Regions from separate parts of the Homo sapiens genome. Here region 2 is linked to region 1. Evidence: promoter capture Hi-C in 16 types of primary human blood cells and fetal thymus (Javierre and others, 2016). All regions are on one chromosome and are shown on one strand. The core of a region is centred on a gene start or on the middle of the fragment in contact, and the rest is flanking DNA. Distances in the headings are between cores, read along the strand shown. Region 1 holds the start of DLEU7 (deleted in lymphocytic leukemia 7). Region 2 overlaps DLEU1 (deleted in lymphocytic leukemia 1).

Evidence for each region. The method cuts DNA at HindIII sites, captures the fragments that hold promoters and counts their contacts. A CHiCAGO score of 5 or more calls a contact.
Region 2: a fragment that was not itself captured here is called in contact with the fragment with the promoter of DLEU7 in region 1 in 1 of 17 cell types (neutrophils); the score reaches 5.9 in neutrophils.

What each region holds. Positions count from the first base shown.
Region 1 is chr13:50,840,671-50,845,911 of GRCh38, forward strand. DLEU7 (deleted in lymphocytic leukemia 7) reads right to left here and starts at 3,022. Exons shown (of 2, transcript NM_001306135.2): 1 at 2,518-3,022. The coding sequence starts at 2,976. The region is part of intron 4 of DLEU7-AS1 (DLEU7 antisense RNA 1); the gene reads left to right. RefSeq lists an enhancer at 1,952-2,878. The HindIII fragment of the contact is 9,888 bases long and covers 1-5,241 here.
Region 2 is chr13:50,339,273-50,344,513 of GRCh38, forward strand. The region is part of intron 2 of DLEU1 (deleted in lymphocytic leukemia 1); the gene reads left to right. Among named protein-coding and RNA genes, the nearest start is that of DLEU1-AS1, 190 kb to the right of the region's middle. The HindIII fragment of the contact is 7,213 bases long and covers 1-5,241 here.

The DNA of each region.
Region 1 (5,241 bases), core at 1,772-4,271:
GAGGGTCAGCAAAGAGGGGGCGGTAGAAAATGTAAGGAGAGAGAAAATTGATAGAAACAGGTCCAGGAGCAAGTGAAAGATTTGCTCCAGTGGAATTAACATGAATATACATGGGGATGGGGGGGCAGCACTTGAATTTTAGAAACAAAAATGAAGATGAGTAGAAATGCAATTTTTTAGGTAGAAAGATATTTCTGTCCACTGGCCTCTATTTTCTCAGAAAAGGTGTGAGCGGGTTGAGGTTTGGATGAAGAAGGCTTGAGGAGGATGGAAAATGTTTAGAATCAAAAGTCAATTAGAAAGGGCTAAAAGGATTTCCAAGTAGAAGTGACTGTGGCATTAAGCTAAAATGGCATAGTTTATAGTGGACTGCTTCCAGAGCAGAGGACACGGGGTTTAGTCCATTGCCACTGAGTTGGGTCAAGCCCTTAGACAGCTGTCTTCTGACCTGACTTTCAAACTGAAACCTACCCTTCTGTGATTTATCCAGGCTTCTGTGATTTACCTACCCTCTGCTTGCAAGACAATCCAAGGTCCTCAGCATGACACACAGGCCTTTCCCTAACTGGCCCCCATTTGTGTCTCCAGCATCAGTTTTTGCCTTCTGCCATATTGAACTTAACTGTAGTTCCTCTAGAGCCTCAGTCCCTTTCAGTGCTGCTGGGCCTTAACCAAAGTATTCTCCTGAAATATTTTTCCCTTTAATGTCTGGAAAATAACATGTATTTTTTTTTTAAAGGCTGCCTCCTCTGAGAAGCCTTCCAGGGTCACCTTAGGTAAAACTGATTGTCAGTCTCTCTTTTTGCCAGCCTTACCTATGCCCTGTATGTGCTACTGACATCACAAGTCACTTCATATTTCATCTATTTTAAAATGCACTTTTATTCACATTTTTTAAAAATCCCTGAAATCAGCCAGATGTGGTGGTACAGGTTTGTAGTTGCAGCTACTGAGGAGGCTGAGGCAGGAGGATCACTTGAGCCCAGGGCTCGAGGCTGTAGTGTTATGATCGCACCTGTGAATGGCTACCACACTGCAGCCTTGGCAACACAGGCAGACCTTGTCTCAAAAAAAAAAAAAAAAAAATCCCTTAAATTAGCATGTAACTTATAATCAATGGTGTATCATAGTTCAATGACAGGATTAAAAAAAATTTTGGTGATACCAAAAAAAAGTACATCTTACATTGGAGAGCATTTGGTGAAATGCAGCTTCATTTTCTAACTTTCTAAAGTGAGTGTAGGAGTGCTTCTCATCTTGCCTCCCACCCCACCGCCCCCGCCACCTTTGGCAGTGTCTGGAGACATTTTTGGCTGTATCAACTTGCGGCGAGGAATATGCTGCTGGCATCTAACAGGTAGAGGCGAGAGATGCTGCTAAACATCCTCTAATACACAGGACAACCCCCGACAACAAAGAATTAGCCAGGTCAAAATGTGAATAGTACAGAGATTGAGAAACCCCTACGTAGAGAAACAATACCTATTTGGGTATATAATAGGCTTTATTATGTTTGATTTTAAATAAATCTTTTACAGTGTATAGTGCAACTTAATGTATAGCAACTTTTTCCAAACCTTGGCTTGTACAGAATAGCAACTCTTGAGACATATTCTAAGCTCTCCTCATCACCCCTCCCCAACTCCTTCTGCTAGATGCCCCAGGGAAATAAAATACAGCAATGCTCCTGGTCAAAATCTGAAAGCCAGAATGTCTCAGAGAGATTCGTGACCTTAAACCAATTAGGTTAGTTAATGGCAAGTCCAGGACTGAAACCCAGACCCCCAGATTTCCGCAATCTCACTCAGCCTGGGAGACAGCTGCTCCCTTCCCGGGCTAAATTGGCTAACACAGTTTGGTACCTTAAGAGGAAATGTGCCCTACCTATATGAGCTGGGTGACTTAGCAAGAGTTTAGCATTTAGTATTCACGCTTTAACACCCGGGACCCACCCAGCTCTCACCCCACTTTATGAGAATGTAGGTTGACTCTGTAAGACCCCTTAGCTCTGTGGGGAATTGGATTTATGCAAAAAATAATAGTGATTCATGAATGTGAAGGAACTTTAAATAAATGTAGATGATTTCATCATACAAAAGGCAGAAGGGACTTAGTAAGTGTATTTAAGGCTCTGGAGGAAGCGTTATTAATTTGGAAAGTGGGTGGGGGGAGCTGTCCTCTATCCCTACAAGCTGCACGTGTGGAAAGGGCCTTTCTAGCGCAGGAAGCTGATTTATGTGAGAGAGGAAGGAGTTCCAGGGGGAGGTTTTGGCAAGGCAGTCCCCACATCTCGGTTGTGCCAGCCAGGCGGGCCTCAGGTGGGTCTGGGGCTCCCTGCCCCTCCTGCTGAGTCCCCAGAGTGTCCCCCGCCCCCTTCCTTCTCCCACTGGGGCTGAATCACAGTGGGCAGCAGTGTTTGGGATCCTGCGATCCACCCATCGCCATCCCAGCAGCCCCACCCTTGGAGGATGGGAGGTTACCCTGCACGCCAGAGGGGATGGCGGGGGCCAGACTCACCTTCAGGTGAATGGGAAAGGACCGCTCCTGCTGGAGGGGCCCCAGCAGCGTCTGCTCCACGCTGACCAGCTCCGAAGTCGAGTCCACCACGCGGGCCAGCGCGCTGCGCATCGCCATCTGGGCCAGGGTGCAGGGCCCGCGGTCCCGGGGGAAGGGCAGCAACTCGGCGCCCCCCTCAGCGCCTCGCACTACCTCCTCCTCTGGGGAGTTCGCCCGCGCCGCGGTCCGCCGACTCCTGGTCCCCACGCCCCCGCCCCGCTCCTCGCGCCCGGGCCCCGGCCGGGCCCGCGGCGGGCCTGAGCGACGGGCTGGAGCGGTGGACACGTGGTCTGGGTCCCGCGGGTTCCCGGGGGCGACTGGACCGTCCCCCCAGCCCCACTCCTGCTGCAGCAGCTGCAAGGTCTGCAGAGCCACCATTTGGTGGCTGATGGAGGCCACTAAGGGCGCAGGGCTGGCCATCGCCTCCGCTGGCGGCCCGGCGCGCTCCGCGTGCAGGTGGAGCAGCAGCGAGGGAGGCGGGGGCGTTGGGGTCGCCAAGGTCACATTTTCTAACCCGCGGCTCCTCGGCCTCTGGGTCTCACAGCGTGTGTGGTCGGCCCCGCCCCCGGCTCTGAATCGGTGACCCGTGCTGGCCTCTGCCTTCGCCTGAAGTCCGAATCAGGCGTGTTCTGACCCAAAGCTGCCTGAAGCGCTGCTCGGTGTGCACTTGAAAATCAGCGAAATGCTGAGCGTTGCTTCTTCCCTCTCTCCAGGGCTTTGATGAGAAAACGTGCTGCTTTGTGCGGGCGCATCCATCGGCGGGGATACCCCGCCCCCACCTCCTTCGAAGGATGCCTGCCAATGACCACTGAGGTCTGGGAGGTGGGGGTGCAAAAGACCCACTCTAGGGCAAAAGTACGAAGGGCTCTAGAAAAACTTGCAAAAGGAAGACTGTGCCTTTCCCAACCCGAGGGGAATTTTCAGAAACTTGTTGAAGCAGCCTTCAAGGCCTTGCATCCCCCAAACAAAAGAAGGAGGAGTTGTGTATCTGGAAGTTCTGCTCTTCTCTGCTTTGCTGGGTGCCACTTGAGCACCGAGAGCCTGGTGGCTGAACTAGCATCAGCAAGCCTCAAGGCCCAGGCCTGGCACTGCCCAGAAAAGCCTAAATGTTTTTTTGTGACACTCCCAAAAGACTTAGGCAGCAAGGTTGAAGTTAATCCTTTTATGAGCCATGAACTTAGGGACAGCTGTACAAATAGTTGCTGTTTTTAATTAAACCCAACATGGCTACTTCCTTAACTTAGAAAAAAGCGACTAGCAATGTTATGCTTTGATAGATTGGAAACCATGGGTGTGTGATCACACTTAAGAAAATAGAAGATATTTGAGAGGAGTGGTATGGAAAACCAGTCCGGAGCAGCATTGTTCCTGCTTGCTTTCTGCAAGGAAAACCACTAGACAACCCAACAGCCCAGTAAAGCCAGGGCAATGGTGCATGCCCACGACAGACAGGTGGGCCCTGGCAGACCTGAGGATGGAATTGCATTACTCCTTTGGGAGCCAGACTGCACCCTTGGTGCTGTGCAGATCTGGAGAGGCTTTTGAGTGAAAAGGCCACACTGGTTAGTCTGTGAGCACAAAAGGATCATCAGAAGAGATATGGAGAGGGATGTTGGGTCCTTTAAGGTTTCCTTAACCCTGGGATAGTATGACCCCATATAATCCTCCCAACTTGCCAGCAAAGGTTCCTTCTCCTTCCCAGTGCTTTCTTCGCCTATGAAAACGAATCTGAATGCCAAGGTAAAGAAAACCTTTCTTAAACAAAAACGAGTATGTTCACACTAATTATAACTAAGTAAAAATGCACGTCTGTGCATTGACAGAGAGGAAATTACTTTGGAGGGAAGTAAATAGTTTAATGTTGATTAGATTTTTTTGCCATGAAGTTACTTAAGTTCATAATAAAAAATAGAAAGAAAAAAATTTTCTTTTTAAAAAAAGTCTTCAAATGTTGAAATATATTAGGTTCAGCAGAGACTAACCAGCAATAGCAAAAATGAACCCCTAATTTTCACAGAGCATGTCAGATCTCTAGGGCTGCCTCTCTTTCCAGATACACAGGAAATTCAGTTTCATGGGCTAACCCTTCCACTATCAAATGGCTGACTGCAAAACTTTCTTGACAGTTGGAATTGCAGCCAAGAGCAGAATTGAAATCACTAGACACAGGCTGACCTGAGGCCCCACTCTTCTACATACCACACTGAGTCAGAGCCATGAGACCAACTGAACCTCAGGGGGCATGACAGAAGGGTGCCAGAAAACCTTGGGGCCTGAGGGATGGCACATGCTGCTTAAATTGCTGCCTGCTTTTTCTAGTATTCTTAGGAAGCCCTGGATCATCTGGCAACTGAGTGTTTTGTCTGTTTTGGCTGTGGGTCGCACTGTGTTTTGCTATGATCTCAAAATGGCTTGTGTTCCAAAGCTAGAGATATGAGAGCCTAACTCAGGAAAAATTTTCATAGTCTATTTAGATGAGTCAATAGCATAGCAGATCTACCTTTGGTCTAAAACACCTCCGTAGTTACGTTTGCTGGGCTACCAGACGAAGTAACAGATAGCCTACTTCTTACCCACTGTACTCACGATTTGAGGCCATTCTGTAATAAAGGGCACATTCAAAAGGACAAAGTATTAGATATCTGATATGTTTGTTTCACAACATATATTTCACTATTTTATAGA
Region 2 (5,241 bases), core at 1,629-4,128, 500 kb before region 1:
AGAACTCTCTACATCCAGACTTGGATTAAAAAAAAAAAATCAGGATAGTTTTTTCTAGTATTTTATCTATTCGTACTGTTTTATTGTTTATTTTTAGAAATGCTTATTTTGGTTAAATCCTTACTCAAATATATATAGACATTTGAATAGTTCTGCTTTTACCATGGCTTCTCCTTTTGTTCACAGATTATGTGCTTTTGTATTTTATTAGCAACATGAAGAATGTGTTACAATTGTTTTCTTCTTTGTGCTTGCAATGTGTGTGCTTTAGAAGGCAATGAGTCCCTCAGAGTCCTCTGGCCTTTCTTCTCATCTCTGTGCTTGGGAATGTTTCCACATGCCCAGGTTTATTCTCCTTTACTTATCCATGTGAAGAGAGGTCTGTGAAGTCCCAATTTTTAAGAACAGATAAGACACAGGAATTGCTCAGTGGGGCACAGTCTGACTTTGGTAAGGTACAAAGGGTGCTGTCTGGGGCTCAAAAAAGGACTGAAAAGGACGCATGGAGGGTGCTGAGTTGGCAACCTGGAAGAGGGGGTGGTGCTGGAAGAAGTGGCTGCAGCTGTGGGACCTCATTTCATGGAAGCTGCTCTTGAGCCCCTGCGGCCCAGATACCTGGGAGAAACAGGGTCCTGGGAGAAAAGGCTTACTCTTATGCCTTCGATCAACAAACAACAGTTTCCTGGACCACGAGCAAACTGGACCAGCTGGGAGCAGGTAGAGACAGATGTATGGGTAGAGGGAAGTCAATATACCTGTAGTTTCCTGCAGAAACAGAACAGTCTTAGGGCAGTGCAGGATGGAAAGACACACTCCAGAGCCTGAGGCACCAAAGCGGAACAAGCATAGGGGCTGGCTGCCTGCCGTAGATCCGGGGGGATTATTTAATGTTGTATTGGAATCGAGAGTGCTGTAATTTCTAAGACTTTATGTTATTGCATGGACAGTTTTTCTCATTTTATGATATTTCCTTTGTTCATGTAGGTGATTTTGGTGGGGTGGTTTTTAGAATGTTCTCTTGTTTGTTAGCTAGAAGCCCAAGGGCATTTCTTTGTCCCCAAGGACAATGCTCCAATCCAAAGGATTTGCATTTAGGAATTTCAGGCACCAGTTGGCAAACAGGGGAATCTGTGAGCTCTCCTGCCCGAATTCAGGATGGACCTAAGACATTTTAGAATCCAGCCTTAGGTGAGACCACTAGGTGAGTTTCTGAGAAATGATCCCGGCAGCCGACCAACTCAGTCTCTGCAGCCTTGTAACACATTTGCTAGATTCAAGCACTCTAGTGAAACACAAATGCACATTATGTAGCAAACAGAATTGGGATAGGTTACGCAGAGCTAAGGCATTAAACATCCCCCTTCCCTCCCCGACTCCGCAACGATTCTAATAGCCAGGCACAAGCAGCGTCAGGATCTACGAGTAGCAGCTGCAGCGTTTAAAGAAACATCAGCTTCTGCACGTGCGTTCGTGGCGGGCCTGTCAGTGTGCTTTTCAGCCACACCTGCTTGCCCAGATGGTGGCCTCTGTGAGCGGCCTCAGCTCCTTGAGGAAGGACAGTCCCGGATTGTTTCACAGAGATTTACTGATGGGAAAATAACCACCCATCACCTCAGGGAACATTCTCACACATTTTCTTTATCATGCATTAAAAAAGTTACCAGTTTTTCTTTTTTTCCCCCGTAAGACACCAGAACTTCAAGTCTTTTGCAATAAGCCTGGAACACAAACCCATTCATTGGTTCCAAAGTGGATTTGCACAGTCTCCACGAAAACTGCCAGGGGCTAGGTGGGGCCCTGGTGACCCAGGCCAGGCCACTGAACCAGAGCTGGCTCTGGGATTTGAAATGACGTCCACTCCTTGTGCTCTTTGGGCTAAATCTAAAAGGGTAGCTCAGCTGCCTGTGTTTTTTGACTCTGGGAAACTCTTTTCCCTCATGGCTTTCCCAGCACAGCCTTACCTCTGTTCCTACACAGTCTCCTTCATGCGTTCTTTTCTGGGCCCTGAAATGTTCCTGTCTTCAGAGCCACGTCCTTGGCCCTCACCCTTTCCCCCTCAGCACTTTTCTGGGGTCATCCAGATTCCTGACTTCCATACCCATGCTACTGCCTCCCTTTGGGACATCTCCTGGGTCTCCTACAGCCATCTCAAACTTCTGTTGTCCTCTGTTTTCTGCCTCAGTTACTAATTTCCATGTCTCCCAAAAGTTGACCTCATGCCCCAGTCTCCTCCTGGGATTATGGGTCTTTCTTTGTTCTAGCCTTTTCTCCTCTCTCCTTGGTTTTTCACTGTTTGCAAAACTTTTCTGCCTTTTCATCTGGAAAAATCCTTGCTTAAAAACAGTCCTGCTCATAGGCTAAAACCTTTGTGGAACTTCACCCAACCCCTGCTTCCCATGCTGGAATTAATTGCTGCTTTTGTTGGTAAAATAAGCATGACCTAGAACCTGCCGGATGCCAAGGCACTAGGGACCCTCAGAGTCTGGTGTGGGGGATGGACCGTGGTTAGTTAGCATTTGAAGCAGTACAATAAAGATATGGCCTAAGAGCTGTGGGAATACAAAGGAGGGAGTCACTAATGCTCCATTTTAGAAATCCCCATGTAGGGGAAAATTAAATCAGAGAGATGGGAGCAGCATGTGTCCCTAGGTGACATCTATGGTCCACTCCAAGCAGCCGTGTTTCAAATGCAGATCTGCACCTGGCAAGGCTTTCTTTTTGTTTACCTCACCTAGCCACCAATCCTCCCTTACTTCCAAACACATCTATCATCTATTATTTCCATCGTGAGGTGCCACAGAGCAAAGACAGTATCATTTCTCCTTTTTCCTCTTTTGAGATCTCAGCATGAACTCATGGCTATAATATCCTTAACTCCTTCAACATGACATTATGATGTTAGCAAAAACTATGCCTGAAAAATAAAAACAATCTTAAGTGGCACCCACTCATAATGAACTTCTGGGTTCTGCACCCTTTACAGACCTTCTGATCAGAGATTGTCCCTCTGCCCTGGGGTCCTTGCATTTCTTTCCTGTGGGCTTTGTTGTTTACCACATGCTGTTCTGATCATGCTATCTTTCATTTAAATAGAAAGATAGCATGATGATGAAATGAAAATGATCCTAGGGTTGCTGTGAGTGTAGGATACACCAGTACCTGATGCTCACAGTTTGACAGGTCAGATCAAACTGTTATTCCAGAGCTGAGGGGAGAGACCAGGCCTCCTCTGGGAACTGGGACAGTGAGGAGAAACAAGCATCTGGTCACAGCCCCATCCCATGGACTCTGTCAGGGTTTAGGAGCTAACTTGCAGGGTGAACCTGTGGACAGTGAATTTTAGAGATAGAAGGGAGTTTGGCAATAGTCTAGTCTAACACTATTATTTTACAGATGGTGACATGGAAGCTCAGAGAGGTAAAGAGGTGTGTTTATGGTTCATGGAGGATTTGTGGCAGCCAGTGTGGAAGCCAGTGTGCCTGAGGCCCTCTCTGTTTAGTGGTGTCCATTCCACACTACACTGTCATCCCTGGAGCTCTGCTTGTTGTTGCTTGGAGCTATGAGCTTTGGTCATGAGTACAGCCCTATGGGGTAGATATATCCTAACTTATGGGTGAGGACACAGAGGTATAAAGAAAAAGAAGTTGCCTAAGATCACAGGGAATCCTTCTAAAACTGGACAGTCTCACCTACAAGATGGGAATAGAAATACCAATTGATGGAATTATAAGAAATTATGGGTATAAAATTTGTCAGGATATCATGAGCTATTAATTCATATGTTTTTTTCTTCACATTTCCTTTCAGCTTGTGACATTCTTTTATTTAGATAGCTAGATTAGAGGGAATCAGAGAGAATTAAGCCAGGGACAAAAGAAGTCACATTCTTCCTTCTTAGTTTTAAAAGTCTTTTTTTATGGCTGCATATTCCATATGGAATGTGCATATAACAGTATTCCATGGTGTATATGTGCCACATTTTCTTAATCCAGTGTATCATTGGTGGACATTTGGGTTGGTTCCAAGTCTTTGCTATTGTGAATAGTGCTGCAGTAAACATACGTGTGCATGTGTCTTTATAGTAGCATGATTTGTAATCCTTTGGGTATATGCCCAGTAATGGGATCGCTGGGTCAAATGATGTGTTCTCATTCATAGGTGAGAATTGAACAATGAGAACACTTGGACACAGGGTGGGAAACATCACACATGGGGGCCTGTCATGGGGTGGGGGACAGGGGGAAGGATAGCATTAGGAGAAATACCTAATATAAATGACAAGTTAATGGGTGCAGCAAACCAACGTGGCATATGTATACCTATGTAACAAACCTGCATGTTGTGCACATGTACCCTAAAATTTTAAGTATAATAATAATAATAATAAAGTCTTGGTCCTTGCTGTGGATATTAGCCTGTTTTCATCTCTCAAGAGTTCTGAGGCCCTTCCTATTTTGGGGATTCCTCCATCACATGAGTCTTGGTGGAAGGCAGGGTCCTATCTCCTACTTGAAAATATATGGGGCTGGATGTTCCATTTTTTCATAGAACAGATTTCCAGAACAGAGAAGTGACAAAGCCCTCTGGGTAAGGAAGATGGGGTAGAGAATTGAAGAGGATGGTGGCGGGATCTCAGAGAAGGCTGTGTGTCTTGCCCCTCCCTCTCATCCAGTGGAGTTGGCTGTAAAAGGGAATGATGTCAGAACATACTGAGAAGTCTGAGTTCAAGGCTAGAGGGGATGTGTGCAGTATTCTCCTCTGGAGCCCTGGGAGAAGGCTGCCTCCCATAGCATCCTCATGGAGCCAAAAGTGCTTACAAACACTATCTCAGTGATATTTCTTTCTTTTTTTTTTTTTTTTTTTGAGATAGATTCTCACTCCTTCCCCCAGGGTGGAGTGCTGCGGTATAATCTCAGCTCACTGCAACCTCCACCTCCCGAGTTCAAGCAATTCTCCTGCCTCAGCCTCCTGAGTAGCTGGGATTACAGGCGTTTGCCACCACGCCCAGCTAATTTTTGTGTTTTTAGTAGAGACGGGGTTTCACCATGTTGGTCAGGCTGGTCTCAAACTCTTGACCTCGTGATCTGCCTGCCTTGGCCTCCCAAAGTGCTGGGATTACAGGCATGAGCCACTGCGCCTGGCCAACATTTCATTTTCAAATGTTAAATTAACATATATGTTCTCTACTGACCATGAGAATTCTTAAGATAACTGTGTGGCAGGTTTAATGTAATGGACAAA